Regions from separate parts of the Homo sapiens genome. Here all the other regions are linked to region 3. The links are contacts of gene promoters, found by promoter capture Hi-C in blood cells and fetal thymus (Javierre and others, 2016). All regions are on one chromosome and are shown on one strand. The core of a region is centred on a gene start or on the middle of the fragment in contact, and the rest is flanking DNA. Distances in the headings are between cores, read along the strand shown. Region 1 overlaps ZKSCAN5 (zinc finger with KRAB and SCAN domains 5). Region 2 has its middle 14 kb from the start of FAM200A. Region 3 holds the start of TRIM4 (tripartite motif containing 4). Region 4 has its middle 27 kb from the start of ZSCAN25. Region 5 overlaps ZNF655 (zinc finger protein 655).

What was found. The method cuts DNA at HindIII sites, captures the fragments that hold promoters and counts their contacts. A CHiCAGO score of 5 or more calls a contact.
Region 1: a fragment that was not itself captured here is called in contact with the fragment with the promoter of TRIM4 in region 3 in 1 of 17 cell types (erythroblasts); the score reaches 5.2 in erythroblasts.
Region 2: a fragment that was not itself captured here is called in contact with the fragment with the promoter of TRIM4 in region 3 in 1 of 17 cell types (erythroblasts); the score reaches 5.1 in erythroblasts.
Region 4: a contact is called between a fragment that was not itself captured here and the fragment with the promoter of TRIM4 in region 3, in 1 of 17 cell types (erythroblasts). The highest score is 5.3, in erythroblasts.
Region 5: a contact is called between a fragment that was not itself captured here and the fragment with the promoter of TRIM4 in region 3, in 1 of 17 cell types (erythroblasts). The highest score is 5.3, in erythroblasts.

What each region holds. Positions count from the first base shown.
Region 1 is chr7:99,516,782-99,519,481 of GRCh38, reverse strand. All of the region lies in intron 3 of ZKSCAN5 (zinc finger with KRAB and SCAN domains 5), which reads right to left. Among named protein-coding and RNA genes, the nearest start is that of ZKSCAN5, 13 kb to the right of the region's middle. The HindIII fragment of the contact is 351 bases long and covers 1,204-1,554 here.
Region 2 is chr7:99,536,487-99,539,186 of GRCh38, reverse strand. No RefSeq gene overlaps it. Among named protein-coding and RNA genes, the nearest start is that of FAM200A, 14 kb to the left of the region's middle. The HindIII fragment of the contact is 5,686 bases long and covers 1-2,700 here.
Region 3 is chr7:99,918,175-99,920,874 of GRCh38, reverse strand. It overlaps TRIM4 (tripartite motif containing 4), which reads left to right and starts at 1,345. Exons shown (of 6, transcript NM_033091.3): 1 at 1,345-1,866. The coding sequence starts at 1,474. It overlaps LOC101927610 (a long non-coding RNA gene), which reads right to left and starts at 1,272. Exons shown (of 2, transcript XR_001745296.3): 1 at 1,048-1,272. RefSeq lists enhancers at 974-1,083, 1,324-1,403, 1,434-1,483 and a silencer at 1,614-1,773. The HindIII fragment of the contact is 3,942 bases long and covers 1-2,700 here.
Region 4 is chr7:99,642,247-99,644,946 of GRCh38, reverse strand. It overlaps a transcript of ZSCAN25 not described here. Among named protein-coding and RNA genes, the nearest start is that of ZSCAN25, 27 kb to the right of the region's middle. The HindIII fragment of the contact is 734 bases long and covers 1,039-1,772 here.
Region 5 is chr7:99,576,315-99,579,019 of GRCh38, reverse strand. It overlaps ZNF655 (zinc finger protein 655), which reads right to left. Exons shown (of 3, transcript NM_138494.3): 3 at 2,567-2,705. Among named protein-coding and RNA genes, the nearest start is that of ZNF655, 19 kb to the right of the region's middle. The HindIII fragment of the contact is 2,350 bases long and covers 79-2,428 here.

The sequences.
Region 1 (2,700 bases), core at 130-2,629, 400 kb after region 3:
ACAAGGCAAAATCCCATCTCTACTAAAAATACAAAAATCAGCCAGATGTGGTGATGCACGCCTGTAATCCTGGCTGCTTGAGAGGATAAGGCATGATAATCGCTTGAACCTAGGATGCAGAAGTTGCAATGAGCCAAGATTGCACCACTGCACTCCAGCCTGGGCAACAGAGTCAGCCACTGTCTCAGAAAAAAAAAAAAAAAAAAAATACTGGGCGTGGTGGCTCACGCCTGTAATCCTAGTACTTTGGGAGGCCGAGGCAGGAGGATCACAAGGTCAGCAGTTCGAGACCAGCCCGGCCTGTATGGTGAAACCCCACCTCTACTAAAAATACAAAAATTAGCCGGGTGTGGTGGCAGGTGCCTGTAGTCCCAGCTACTCAAGAGGCTGAGGCAGGAGAATTGCTTGAACCTGGGAGGTGGAGGTTACAGTGAGCCAAGATCGTGCCACTGCACTCCAGCCTGGGTGACAGAGCAAGACTCCGTCTCAAAAAAAAAAAAAAGGTGGGGGCCAGGTACGGTGGCTCACGCCTGTAATCCTAGCACTTTGGGAGGCCGAGGCAGGCAGATCACAAGGTCAGGAGTTAGAGACCAGCCTGGCCAATATGGTGAAACCTCATCTCTACTAAAAATGCAAAAATTAGCTGGGCATGGTGGCGGGCGCCTGTAGTCCCAGCTGCTCAGGAGACTGAGGCAGGAGAATCACTTGAACCCAGGAGGCGGAGGTTGCAATGAGCCGAGATCACACCACTGCACTCCAGCCTGGGTGACAGAGCAAGACTCCCTCTCAAAAAAAAAAAAAAAAAAAAAAAGGATGCATTCTGCTTTGCCAAGATCAAATTTTATTATCTCAAAGAACCACCAAATTCCCACATCTTCCATGAAACTGAAGCATTCCTAACAGTCCAGGGCTGCTCGAGCTTTAATGTACAAATAAATCACCTACATCCCCTAGGGGATCTTGGTACTTGCAGATTCTGACTCAAAAGGCCTGGGGTGAGGCCTGAGAGTTTGCATTTCTTTTTCATTTTTTAATTTAATTAAAAAAAATTTTTTTTTTTGGAGACAGAGTCTCGCTCTGTGGCCCAGGCTAGAGTGCAGTGGCGCGATCTCAGCTCACTGCAACCTCCGCCTCCTGGGTTCAAGCAATTCTCCTGCCTCAGCCTCCCGAGTAGCTAGGATTACAGGTGTGCACCACCAAGCTTGGCTAATTTTTGTAGTTTTAGTAGTGACAGGGTGTCACCACGTTGTCCAGGATCGTCTCAAACTCCGGTGATTCACCTGCAATGGCCTCCCAAAGTGCTGGGATTACAGGTGTGAGCCACTGTGCCTGGCCCCTAGTTTGCACTTCTAATAAGCTCCCAGGTAATGCCAGTGCCACGGCTTCCTGGACCACTCTTGGATTACCACAGCCTCAGAAATCCCTTCCAGAATTTCCATGGTTAGTTTCTATTCAGTCAAGAAATATGTATTAAATCTATTCTCTCTCTCTCTGCCCATCTCAGGAATAGACAAAACAATTCTTACCTTGGAAAAGTACTGTCTAATGCAAGCTTGCCCAACCCACGGCCCGTGGCCCAGGATGGCTTTGAATGTGCCCCAACACAAATTTGTAAACTTTCTTTTTTTTTTTTTTGAGACAAGGTCTCACTCTGTCACCCAGGCTGGAGTACAGTGGTGCAATCTCAGCTCACTGCAACCTCCGCCTCCCAGGTTCAAGTGATTCTCCTGCCTCAGCCTCCCAAGTAGCTGGGATTACAGGCGCCCACCACCACACCCGGCTAATTTTGTTTTGTTTTTTTGAGATGGAGTCTCGCTCTGTTGCCCAGGCTGAAGTGTAGTGATACAATCTTGGCCAACTGCAACCTCCGCCTCCCAGGTTCAAGAGAGTCTCCTGCCTCAGCTTCCTGAGTAGCTGGGATTACAGGCATGTGCCACCATGCCTGACTAATTTTTGTATTTTTAGTAGAGACGGGATTTCGCCATGTTGGCCAGGCTGGTCTTGAACTCCTGGTCTCAACTGATCCACCTGGTTCGGCCTCCTAAAGTGCTGGGATTACAGGTGTGAGCCACCATGCCTGGCCCACAAATTTGTAAAGTTTCTTAAAACATTATGAAGGGCCAGGCACAGTGGCTCACGCCTGTAATCCCAGCACTTTGGGAGGCTGATGAGGGTGGATCACCCGAGGCTGGGAGTACAAGACCAGCCTGACCAACGTGGAGAAACCCCATCTCTACTAAAAATACAAAATTAGCTGAGTGTGTGGCACATGCCTATAATCCCAGCTACTTGGGAGACTGAAGCAGAAGAATCGCTTGAACCTGGGAGGCAGAGGTTGCGCTGAACTGAGATCACGCCATTGCACTCCAGCCTGGGTAACAAGAGCAAAACTCCATCTCAAAGAAATAAACATGAGGGGTTTTTTTGCAATTTTTATTTTGTTTAAGCTCATCAGCTATGGTTAGTGTTTGTGTATTTTATGTGTGGCACAAGACAATTCTTCTTCCAGTGTGGCCCAGGAAAGCCAAAAGATTGGACACCCCTTGGTCTAATGGGAAGGGCACACAGGTAAGCCTTACAGCACAGCGTGAAGAGTGCCATGACGAAAGGTGACCCAAGTTCCCGTGGGACCATAGAGGCAGGAGCACTTACAGAGTGGAGCAGGAGACGCAGCAGCAGCAGCAAAGCCTTTTCCCAGAA
Region 2 (2,700 bases), core at 24-2,523, 380 kb after region 3:
CCTGGCAAACATGGTGAAACCCCATCTCTACCAAAAAATACAAAAATTAGCTGGGCGTGGTGATGGGTGCCTATAGTCCCAGCTACTCGGGAGGCTGAGGCAGGAGAATTGCTTGAACCCAGGAAGTGGAGATTGCAGTGAGCTGAGATCATGCCACTGCACTCCAGCCTGGGGGACAGAGTGAGACCCTGTCTCAAAAAACAGGAAAAAAGGTAATTTTCTTCCCTCTTTTTTATTATTACTTTGAGCTGCCAAAGTACTTTTTTTTTCTTTTTGCCTACTTTCTCATTTGTAGTGCAGACTCTGTAAACCTGCCTTTTCCCCACTCTCTAACATGCCATCCATGCCTGGTAATGCTTTGGTGTTCTCTTACTTTAGGTATGATTGTTTTCACTACCCCCAGTGCTCCTAATGCAATTCCCCTCAGCCAGTTTTTCCTCTATGTCCCTTCTTTTGGAATTTTCAGATAGCCCTAGTGGGTCCACAGACATTCTGAGATTGTGCATCAGACTCAAAATATGGACTTTTCTGGGGGAAAGGCCAGTGGATTTCAACAGAGTCTAAGAAGGCTACCTTATCCCCAAAATGTTAAGACCAATTGCTTTAGGAAGTCTTTAATGTTCTTATGGGTTTTTCTTCCTAAAGAGACAGCAGTGCCAGGTGTTAGCAGCTCATGCCTGTAGTCCCAACACTTTGGGAGGCCGAAGTGGGCTGAAGTCAGAGGATCGCTTGATCTGTTGCCCAGGAGTTTGAGATGAGCCTAGGCAACATGGCAAAACCCCATCTCTACGAAAATGCAAAAATCAGCCAGGCACGATGGTGTGCGCCTATGGACCCAGCTACTCAGGAGGCTGAGGTGGAAGGATTGCTTGAGGTCAGGAGTTAAGAGACCAGCCAGGGCAACATGTGAGAGCCCGTCTCCTCACACAAAAAAATTAAAAATGATGGTGAGCACCAAGAATGATGGTGAGCACCTGTAGTCCCTGCTGCTCAGGAGGTCAAGGTGGGAGGATCACTTGAGCCCAGGAAGTCGAGGGTATAGTGAACCATAGTCACACCATTGCACTCCAGCCTGGGTGACAGTGTGAGACTCTGTCTTAACAACAACAACAAAAAAAGCAGATTTTAATCATTTCCCCCTTTTTCACTTTTAACAAATGGAAATAACTCAATGTAAAAATTAACTGTTTCATATTCCAATTGATCGCCTTAGAGCTATACTGTTCCATCGGTGTCAGGTTCACGACTACGCCAACTGTCATGCCCAGGGTCAGGTTCCAACTCATGCTGAGGTCCAAAGGGAGTGAGTGGATGAGCAGATAGCTGAAAACACTCAGGGGGCCGTAGGCAGGTGAAATGTAGTTTTATTTAGCAGCTCTCATCAGCAGCTCACTTACACTAGTTCTCTTATACTGTCCGCCTTGTCTCGGCTGCTTAGTCAGGTGGCTCCCACACACAGCTGTGCGGCTGGCTCTTCAATACCAGCTACTTAGGAGGCTGAGGCAGGAGAATCGCTTGAACTCAGGAGGCAGAGGTTGCAGTGAGCCGAGATCGCACCACTGCACTCCAGCCTGGGCGAGAGAGTAAGACTCCACCTCAAAAAAAAAAAAAAATCCTTAATTTGCTAATATTCACAAAGGAGAATACACTTGTGCATTCATTTCCCAGGTCTGCTGTAACAAAGTACCACAAACTGGGTGGTTTAAAACAATAAAAATGTATTGTCTCTCAGTACTGGAGTTTAGAAGTCAGAAACTAAGGTGTCAGCAGGTCTATCCCTGAAACTTGCAAGGGAAACCTTGGCTCTTCATAGCTTCTGGTGGTTTGCTGGCAATCTTTGGCATTCCTTGGCTTGCAGCTGCATAACCCCAGTCTCTGCCCTTGCCATCACGTGACCTTCTCTCTTGTGTGCCTGTGTCCACACAGTCAGCTTCTCATAAGGACATCAGTCACTGGATTAGGGGCTCATCCCATCCCAGTAAGATCTTGTCTTTTTTTTTTTTTTTTTTTGAGACAGAATCTCACTCTGTTGCCCAGGCTGGAGTGCAGTGGCGCGATCTCAGCTCGCTGCAACCTCCGCCTCCCAGGTTCAAGCGATTCTCCCTGCCTCAGCCTCCAGAGTAGCTGGGTTCAAGCGATTCTCCCTGCCTCAGCCTCCAGAGTAGCTGGGATTACAGGCGCCCGCCACGCCCAGCTAAGTTTTGTATTTTTAGTAGAGTCGCGGTTTCACCATATTGGCCAGGCTGGTCTCGAACTCCTGAACTCAAGTGATCCACCTGCCTCGGCCTCCCAAAGTGCTGGGATTACAGGTATGAGCCACCATGCCCGACCGAGACCTTGTCTTAACTAATTATATCTGCTATGGTTCTATCTCCAATAAGGTCACATTCTGAGGTACTAGGGGCTGGGACTTCAATAATTCCTTCTGGCTGGGGAGAAGTGGAGAACACAGTTTATGACAACTTGTAATTTGCACCTATCTAATCACACCAAACAGATCTGAAAGAGTTGTCAAAAAGAGGCTAATATCCTGATAAGGGACGGCCAATATGAATTTATACGAAACATGGTAAGAAGGGGCATAGTTTGGCTTCAAGCCAAACTTGAAGTAAAGTAGGACTTCATTTTTAAGGAGGCAAAAATTCCTGTTGAAAGTCTTTGCTTTCACCTTCACCCCAATGGTTTTTTTTTTTCTTATTT
Region 3 (2,700 bases), core at 96-2,595:
GTTAAGAGCATTCCTTCCTGCTTGGTCCCTATTAAAGAACCAGATCCCTTCTCCATAGAGTATTCCAATTTGCAAAGAAAATCCATTCATTAGTTGTCCAATTTAAATGTTTTAGAAATATTCAGTGGAACTTTCATCAATAACCCCCAAACAGATACCTCAAGAACCCCTTTTTCTAATCATTTAATCATACTACTTACTGAGAAAAATTATTATAGGAAAGGCAGTATTTGATATTGGGACATAAAAAGAATGAAAAATCTGTTAAATAAGCAAAAGCCCATTAGCCTGAGGCTGTCTTGGTACTTGAGTTCCCATATAACAAAATACAACCTGACTTAGTATGTAAACGAACTGAAGCCTAACTTACTTTATTTTTTATAACAGCTGGGTTTCAGCCAATCACGGCCGAGCTTCAGCAAATAACAGACAGCCAACTGATCAGACCATGCCCCAATAAGGCAAATGCCTCATCATATCATTGTCAAATAAGGCAGACACCTAGATGTTAGCTAATGAGGTGATTTCTCTACTTTGCTTCCTATAAAAGCTAGCAGGTCATACTGCTGGACAGAGCTCTCTGAACCTCTTTTGGTTCTGAGTGCTGCCCAATTCATGAACTGTTCTTTGTGCAAATAGCTTCTATTAAATTTGTCAGTCCAGAGTTTTTTTTGTTTTAAACAAATATTCACAAGAAAAGGAAGAAAGTGGGAAGAATAAAAAGCAAAGCACCTCAGAAACACAAGATCGAAAATCCACTTAAGGGATATAGATAATTCCCTGAAACAGGTGAGCATATTATTTGTTGAAAGCCTCCATGGATGTTCTTTGGGATAGCAAAATGGTTGCTACTTTTCAAATTGGATACCAAAAAGGCAATGTATCTGCATCTCAGAATCCAAATCATCCCCACGTTAGCCAAACTCCAGGCCTACCAACACAGATCCTTCAAGTCTTCCTGGCCTTCCAGGCCCCTAGGCTGCAGCTCGCCCAGAACTCCTGGGACTCTAAAACTTAAATCGGTCTAACCAGCAGGCGAACACAGACCTGAACCCTCAAACTTGGAAAGAAAGATCATAGGCACCTCCCCGGTTGGCTCCCCCAGGGACCACAACGTCCGGCTCTAACGCCTTGCCCAAGTCCTCTGTAGCTTTCCACAGGCATTTCTGGGTCTCTATAGCTGTTTGGAGGAGCCACTCACCGGTCCCGTCCTGCCCCGCGCCTAGGCCTGAACCAACCCCCTCGCGGTTCCGGCGCGGATACCCAGCAGCTTCCGGTCTTGCGCGCTCAGGCCGGGCAACGTCCGTGCGTTCTTTTTGGGTCCTGAACCCCGGAAGAGAAACTGCGTTGTACCCTTTTACGTGAGGCGGTGACGGCGGTTCGGAAGTCGTCTGGCCTCCCCGCGGCCGCTCGCAGCTTGCTGGCCTCTCCCGCGCCTCACGTCGGACTCCGTCTCCGCGGCAGGGAAGCAGCATGGAAGCTGAGGACATCCAGGAGGAGTTGACCTGCCCCATCTGCCTGGACTATTTCCAGGACCCGGTGTCCATCGAGTGCGGCCACAACTTCTGCCGCGGCTGCCTGCACCGCAACTGGGCGCCGGGCGGCGGCCCGTTCCCCTGCCCCGAATGTCGGCACCCATCGGCGCCCGCCGCGCTGCGACCCAACTGGGCCCTGGCCAGGCTGACTGAGAAGACGCAGCGCCGGCGCCTGGGCCCCGTGCCCCCGGGCCTGTGCGGCCGCCACTGGGAGCCGCTGCGGCTCTTCTGCGAGGACGACCAGCGGCCAGTGTGCCTGGTGTGCAGGGAGTCCCAGGAGCACCAGACTCACGCCATGGCACCCATCGACGAGGCCTTCGAGAGCTACCGGGTGAGCTGGCCGTCGCGGTGACTATGACGGGGCTGTCAGTGTTGCCCGATAAAGTTTACTTAATGCTCCTAAAAGAGCCACGAAGTGGCTGTCATTCCTACTGGAAGCATGAAAAGCCCCTGAAACTCAAAGAAGTTAAGCAAAACACGAATTTCAGAGCTAGGGTTAAAACTGGAATGAGAGGAGGGGAGGTGCAAACCTCAGCAATCATTGTGCAGAATTTTCAATAAACTGGCCCTTGGGGAGCTCATAATAAAGAAAAACATACTGAGAGGGTGTGTGCCGCTGCTGTCCAATAGAAACCACATATGTAATTTAAAATCTTTCTGGTAAGATAAGGAAACGAGGTGACGTTAATTGTAATAATATATTTTATTTAATCTGATTACCCCAAATATTCAAAGCTGAGATGAAAATTATCAATGAGATTTTTTTTTTTTTTCTGAGATGGAGTCTCACTTTATTGCCCAGGCTGGAGCACAGTGGCGTGATCTTGGCTCACTGCAACCTCCTCCTCCGGGGTTCAAGCAGTTCTCCTGCCTCAGCCTCCCGAGTAGCTGGGATTACAGGCACACGCCACCACACCCGGTTAATTTTTGTTTTTTAGTATAGAGGGGTTTCACCATCTTGGCCAGGCTGGTCTCGAACTGCTGACCTCAAGTGATCTGCCCCGCTTGGCCTCCCATAGTGCTGGGATTAAGGTGTGAGTCACCACGCCCGGCCTCAATGAGATATTTTATACTCCTTTTTCATAATAGGTCTGAAATTGGTGTGTATTTTACATTTACAACACATAGCAGTTTGGAATATCCACGTTTCAGGTGCTTGTATGGC
Region 4 (2,700 bases), core at 156-2,655, 280 kb after region 3:
CTGCTGGGTGGGCTTCTGTGGCTCCAGGCACTTGCATCAGGAGTGTCTGCAGTGAAGGTCTCACGTCTGACCCTCCTGACCTCCTGAGCTGACCTCAACCTGTCCCACTATGTGTTCTCTTTTTTCAAAAAAAGAAAGGTCTGTTACATACATGGAAAGGAAAGAAAGGAGACCAGATCTGGCATTGCTTTTCTGTGAGTGAAGAACATGCAGGAAATCGGCTATCATAATCCCTAGGAATGTGCTTCTCCACTCATTGACTTGGGAAAGGAAACAAATGAAGAAAGGCCTCATAAAAATGAGTTCATGTGGGAGGAATTATATGCAGCTTCCTATCAATTACAGTAATAGGCTGCAAAGGGCGTGGCGGAGGAAAAAGAATTACTCAGAGGGTCACAACAACTGCCTTCTAGTCCAAGTCCCTCTCATTTACCAAAGACACCATGCTTTTAGTCCCCCTCATGCTGTTCAGGCAGCCCAACTTGCCCATTTCTATCTACAAAATTCCACTTGTCCTTCAAGGCTCAGATCAAATATCATGTTCTTCATGAAGCCTCCAGTGCCCTAGGCCAGGAGAGGGTCTTCTTTCCCCTCCAGAGTTCTCCAGAATGCAAATTCTGTGACAGTCCTTTTCATGCTCTGCTTGGCATCAGTCAAGTGCACCCCAAATGCTACCCCAAACAGGACTGTTTGTTCTTAAGTTGTATAAAAGATCCTGTTTATCCAAATAACCCCATCCACAGAAGAATCTATCACAGCACCTGGTGTAAAACAATGACTCAGTACAAGTGTGCTGCTATAGCTAATGATGGTGACGGTGACAATGATGACAAGGACGATGACAGCAAACACTGGAGAAAGAACACTGATGACCATCTCCAAGAGATTTTGCCTTAACCCATTCCCTTTGTCTCCTTGATCCTGATCCCATCCAAAGAAAAAGAATTAAGTGTGTGCTTGTCAGAGCCCCAGGATCTCACTGGCCCCTATTTTATGAAGGGTGGTGTGCCTCACAGGGTCAGCATCTGAGATGAAGCTTCCTTCCTTTTTGCCTGGCCCTGAACAGTCTTCTGCTTGTGCATCTCTTGGAATTCCCATTTGGTCTCCAATCTCCCTCCTGCACAGTGTGCCTGAACCCACAGGTCTTCAACTCAGATGTGGGGCTGAGAGGGGGGAGCAATGCAAGCCTACACGATCTCACAACTCCCTTCCCCAGTGACCTCTATGATGCAGGTTACTGGGTGCAGCTCAGATACTACTACAGTGGGACTGAGAGCCCCATCTGCTGTTGCTCCTTGGGCCATCGGGGTTGGGATGATTGGCAGGGCAAGAATCAGCCTTTCCTGGGTCTCTGGCCATAAAACCACAAAAAACTCAACAGAATCTCACCTCAAGACTGTGAAAATGACATGAAGAGTTGACATCACTATGAAGAAATGTTCAATATGCATTTGCTGTAATGGTGAAGAATATAATGATTTGGCCCCATGGAAAAAAAAATGAACATGAAAAAAAAAGGGGGGGCAGCAATGGGTAAACATGAAAGACCTTCACCTAACCTTGCTCTATGCTGGTTTGTAAGGAGACTTTCCGGCTCACAGGCTTCTAAAGTCCAATGGAGTACATAGGGTAAGATGATTCTTCTCTTATGGCAAACGCCTTTCTAGATGGGCACCGGTCTTGGCCTGCAGGCTGCTTGCTTAGGGGTATGGGGAGAGAAACATTCCCTTTCTCATCCTGCACATAATGCAACCATAAAAGGTTCAGAAGCTTAGTCACTCTTACAGACTTGGAAGTGTAAACTCGATCCTATAAACACCAGAATTTTTATTTCTACTTCAAAAATAAATTGCTTTTTTGAAAAAAAGAAAAAATAACTTCATTACCTACATTAAAAAATCATTATTAAGGACCACTAATGGGGAAGTAAAAGTATCCTCAAGAATAATGAGAATAATAATAATATCTCCTATGTGGTCCTTTCCAAGTTCCACAATACTTTCACGCCCATACTGTCTCTGTTCAACTTGGATGCCTTCTTCACATCACAGACCACAGGTACATCCATTTAACAAAACAATCTGAGCTTGAGTGACTAGTATGTACCAAGCACCATTCTAGGTAGTGGGGGAAATATCAGCAAAAAAAGCAAAGTTTCTACTTTCACACAGCTGAAGTTCCAGGGCATGTGGTAGAACAGGAAACAAAAACAAATTTATAATACGTCAGATAATGGTAAGGGCTACAAAGAAAAATAAATCTACGTAAGAAAATAGAGACTGATGGGGAGTGCTACTGTAGAAGGGTTGTGTTCCAATTATCTATTGCTATGTAATTAAACCACTCATACTTAGTGGCTAAAAACAATAGCATGCATTTATTTTCGTTCATATTTCTGGGGGTGACTAGGCTGAGCTTGGCAGTTTCCCTGTAGGGTCTCTCACATGGTTCCAGTCAAACAGGGACTGGAGCTGGAGTCATCTGGAGGGTTCCTTCTCACCTGACTGATGGTTGGTGCTAGGTGTCCACTATGACCACAGTGAGGACTATTGCTGGAATACCTCTGTGCAGCCTGTCAATGTGGTGGAGGTTCCTCCCAGCATTGCAGCTCTGTTCCAAGGGCAAGCATCCCACCTATCACCTCTTATGACTAAGCATCACTGCCTTCACATTTAATTTGTTAGAAGTGAGTCACTTTGG
Region 5 (2,705 bases), core at 4-2,503, 340 kb after region 3:
GTGGGCCACCACACCCAGCCATAGCTAACAGTTTTCTAAAAACAGAGAGTAAATAGGAAGTGTCCACAAAATAAAGCTTTAAATGTATGTAGTTTCTTTATTTGTAAAGGGTGCCATTTGTTTGAAATCGTTCTTACACTCTTGGATTAAAACACCGGTTCCTTCACACACTTGTATTTTGAAGGGAATATAAAATGTGATTCCCTCACACCTGTAATCCCAGCACTTTGGGAGGCTGACGCGGGTGGATTACCTGAGGTCAGAAGTTTGAGACAAGCCTGGCCAACATGGTGAAACTCCGTCCCTACAAAAAATACAAAAATTAGCCAGGTGTGATGGCAGGTGCCTGTAGTCCCAGCTACTCAGGAGGCTGAGGCAGGAAATACTTAAACCTGGGAGGCAGAGGTTGCACTGAGCCAAGATCACATCACTGCACTCCACCCTGGGCGAGAGAGCAAGATTCTGTTTGAAAAAAAAGAAGAAAAAAGTGGTTTCATATGATACAAATGTTAGAAAAAGGACAGATGTCAGTTTGCTGACTCCAGCAGAGTTACCTTTCGGGTGCTAGTTCCCACCACAGCCCAGGATGCCAATGTTTTCTCTAGTTACATGTTAAGATCTCCAAATCCAGGGCATCCCTCCTGAAACAATGCCAGTCCTACACTGCTAAATGTTTACTGAATGAATGGATGAATGAAGGCAACATTTTTAGATGTGGGAATCCTATAGTGCTTGGTTCTCTAATCCCTAGGGGCCTCCTTTGAACTTGGTTCTTCAACCTCCTCAGTTGCCCACATACTACATCCTACAGTGAGGCATTTCTCCATACCTCACTTATTACCTGGAAAGTGCCATACTCTCACATGCAGGCCTTGACATGCTAGCTCTTTTGCTAAAACTCTCCGTGCCCCTCTCCCCGTGTTCCCCACCTGTCATCTACTTCTATCCACCCTTTTGCTCAGGCCAAAAACCTAGGAATTTTCCCATTACCACTTTGCTCCACTGCTATAACCAGAGGTGATAGTGACTCTTAGCAAGGATACATGCCCACCAGCAAGTTCTGGTTATCAGAAAAATATTAAGAGTAAATTTGGTCACGGTGTAATGGAAATGCAAATCTAGTGATGGCAGCAGCGGTATCTTGACAGGACATATGAAATTTGAGAGCTTTGACCTGTGACCTGCCATTGTCAAAACTGTCCAACCCTGTTTCAGAGCAGGGGTTTGACTAGCTCCCTAAAAAAATCTCAGGATATTCTCTCCTAGTATCCCAGAGAGCTCTCGGAGCACTTGAGATCAGTTGCAAACTAATGACAGTGAGTCATCAGCGATGTACTAGGGAATGAAGAGCTATCAAACTTCTCTGGGTTTTGAGATCTGTGTAATACCAACATCACTTTGGGGTATATTGTTGTTTTTTGTTTTTTTGTGTTTTCTTGAGACAGAGTCTCACTCCGGAGTGCAGTGGCACAATCTCGGCTCATTGCAACCTCTGCCTCCCAGGCTCAAGCTATTGTTGCGCCTCAGCCTCCCAGGTAGCTGGAATTATAGGCACGCAACACCATGCCTGGCTAATTTTTCTATTTTAAGTAGAGACTGGGTTTCGCCACATTGGCCAGGCTGGTCTCCAACTCCTGACCTCAAGTGATCTGCCCGCCTCAGCCTCCCAAAGTGTTGAGATTACAGGCGTGAGCCACTGCACCTGGCCTGGGGTATGTTTACTAAAATATTCCTTTGTAAAATGAAGCTAGCTGCTTTGCAGAATTGAGAATAAAGTTTAGATATGTACAAACATACGTGTGTGTAGGTAGGTGGAAAGACAGAAGATAAAAGTGCCCTCTACTATCGTATTTCTCTTCTCTCCCCTTTCAAGACCAAAATGACTCAGAACACAAACTCATGTATCAGGCCAATTAAATATCTGCTTAAAGGATTGCCCTAAAGGACTATTTTGAGTCCGCCTTTTTTAAAGTGTTTTACTTATTTAAAAAATATGGCTGGGCACAGCGGCTCACGCCTGTAATCCCAGCACTTTGGGAGGCTGAGGCAGGCAGATTACCTGAGGTCAGGAGTTTGAGACCAGCCTGGCCAACACAGTGAAACCCGGTCTCTACTAAAAATACAAAAATCAGCCAGGCAAGGTGGCAGGTGCCTGTAATCCCAGCTACTTGGGAGGCTGACACAAGACAATCGTTTGAACCCAGGAGGCGGAGGTTGCAGTGAGCCGAGATCACGCTACTGCACTCCAGCCTGGGTGACAGAACGAGACTGTCTCAAAAAACAAACAAACAAACAAAAAGTTATTCCTAGTTCTACTGAAACCTCGAACTATTTAGTCTTATTTTATATACCAACAACTTCCCAATCAAATCCCCTTTAAGTCCCAAACATTCAGCTTTTGTTCCAGAGGTCTGTGGAAAAGCAAGCTTTGTTATCAATGCAAAGGAAAGTGATCCATTCTTGCTGTGAAGCAAGTTCCAGGGAGGAAAGGAGTTGCAGCCAGAGATGTGATTCCAACATTCCCAAACGCTTCTGTCTGAGACCTTCAGATTTTGTTTGAAACAAATTCTCAGAATACCAAACACACCTTTATTCAAGTGGAAGTACAAAAGCACATTCCTAAACCAAACGCATACATGTGATTTTTACATATTCTGCTTTTTAGGGATTACATAATCCTGTTTCAGTCACCATACGTGACTACT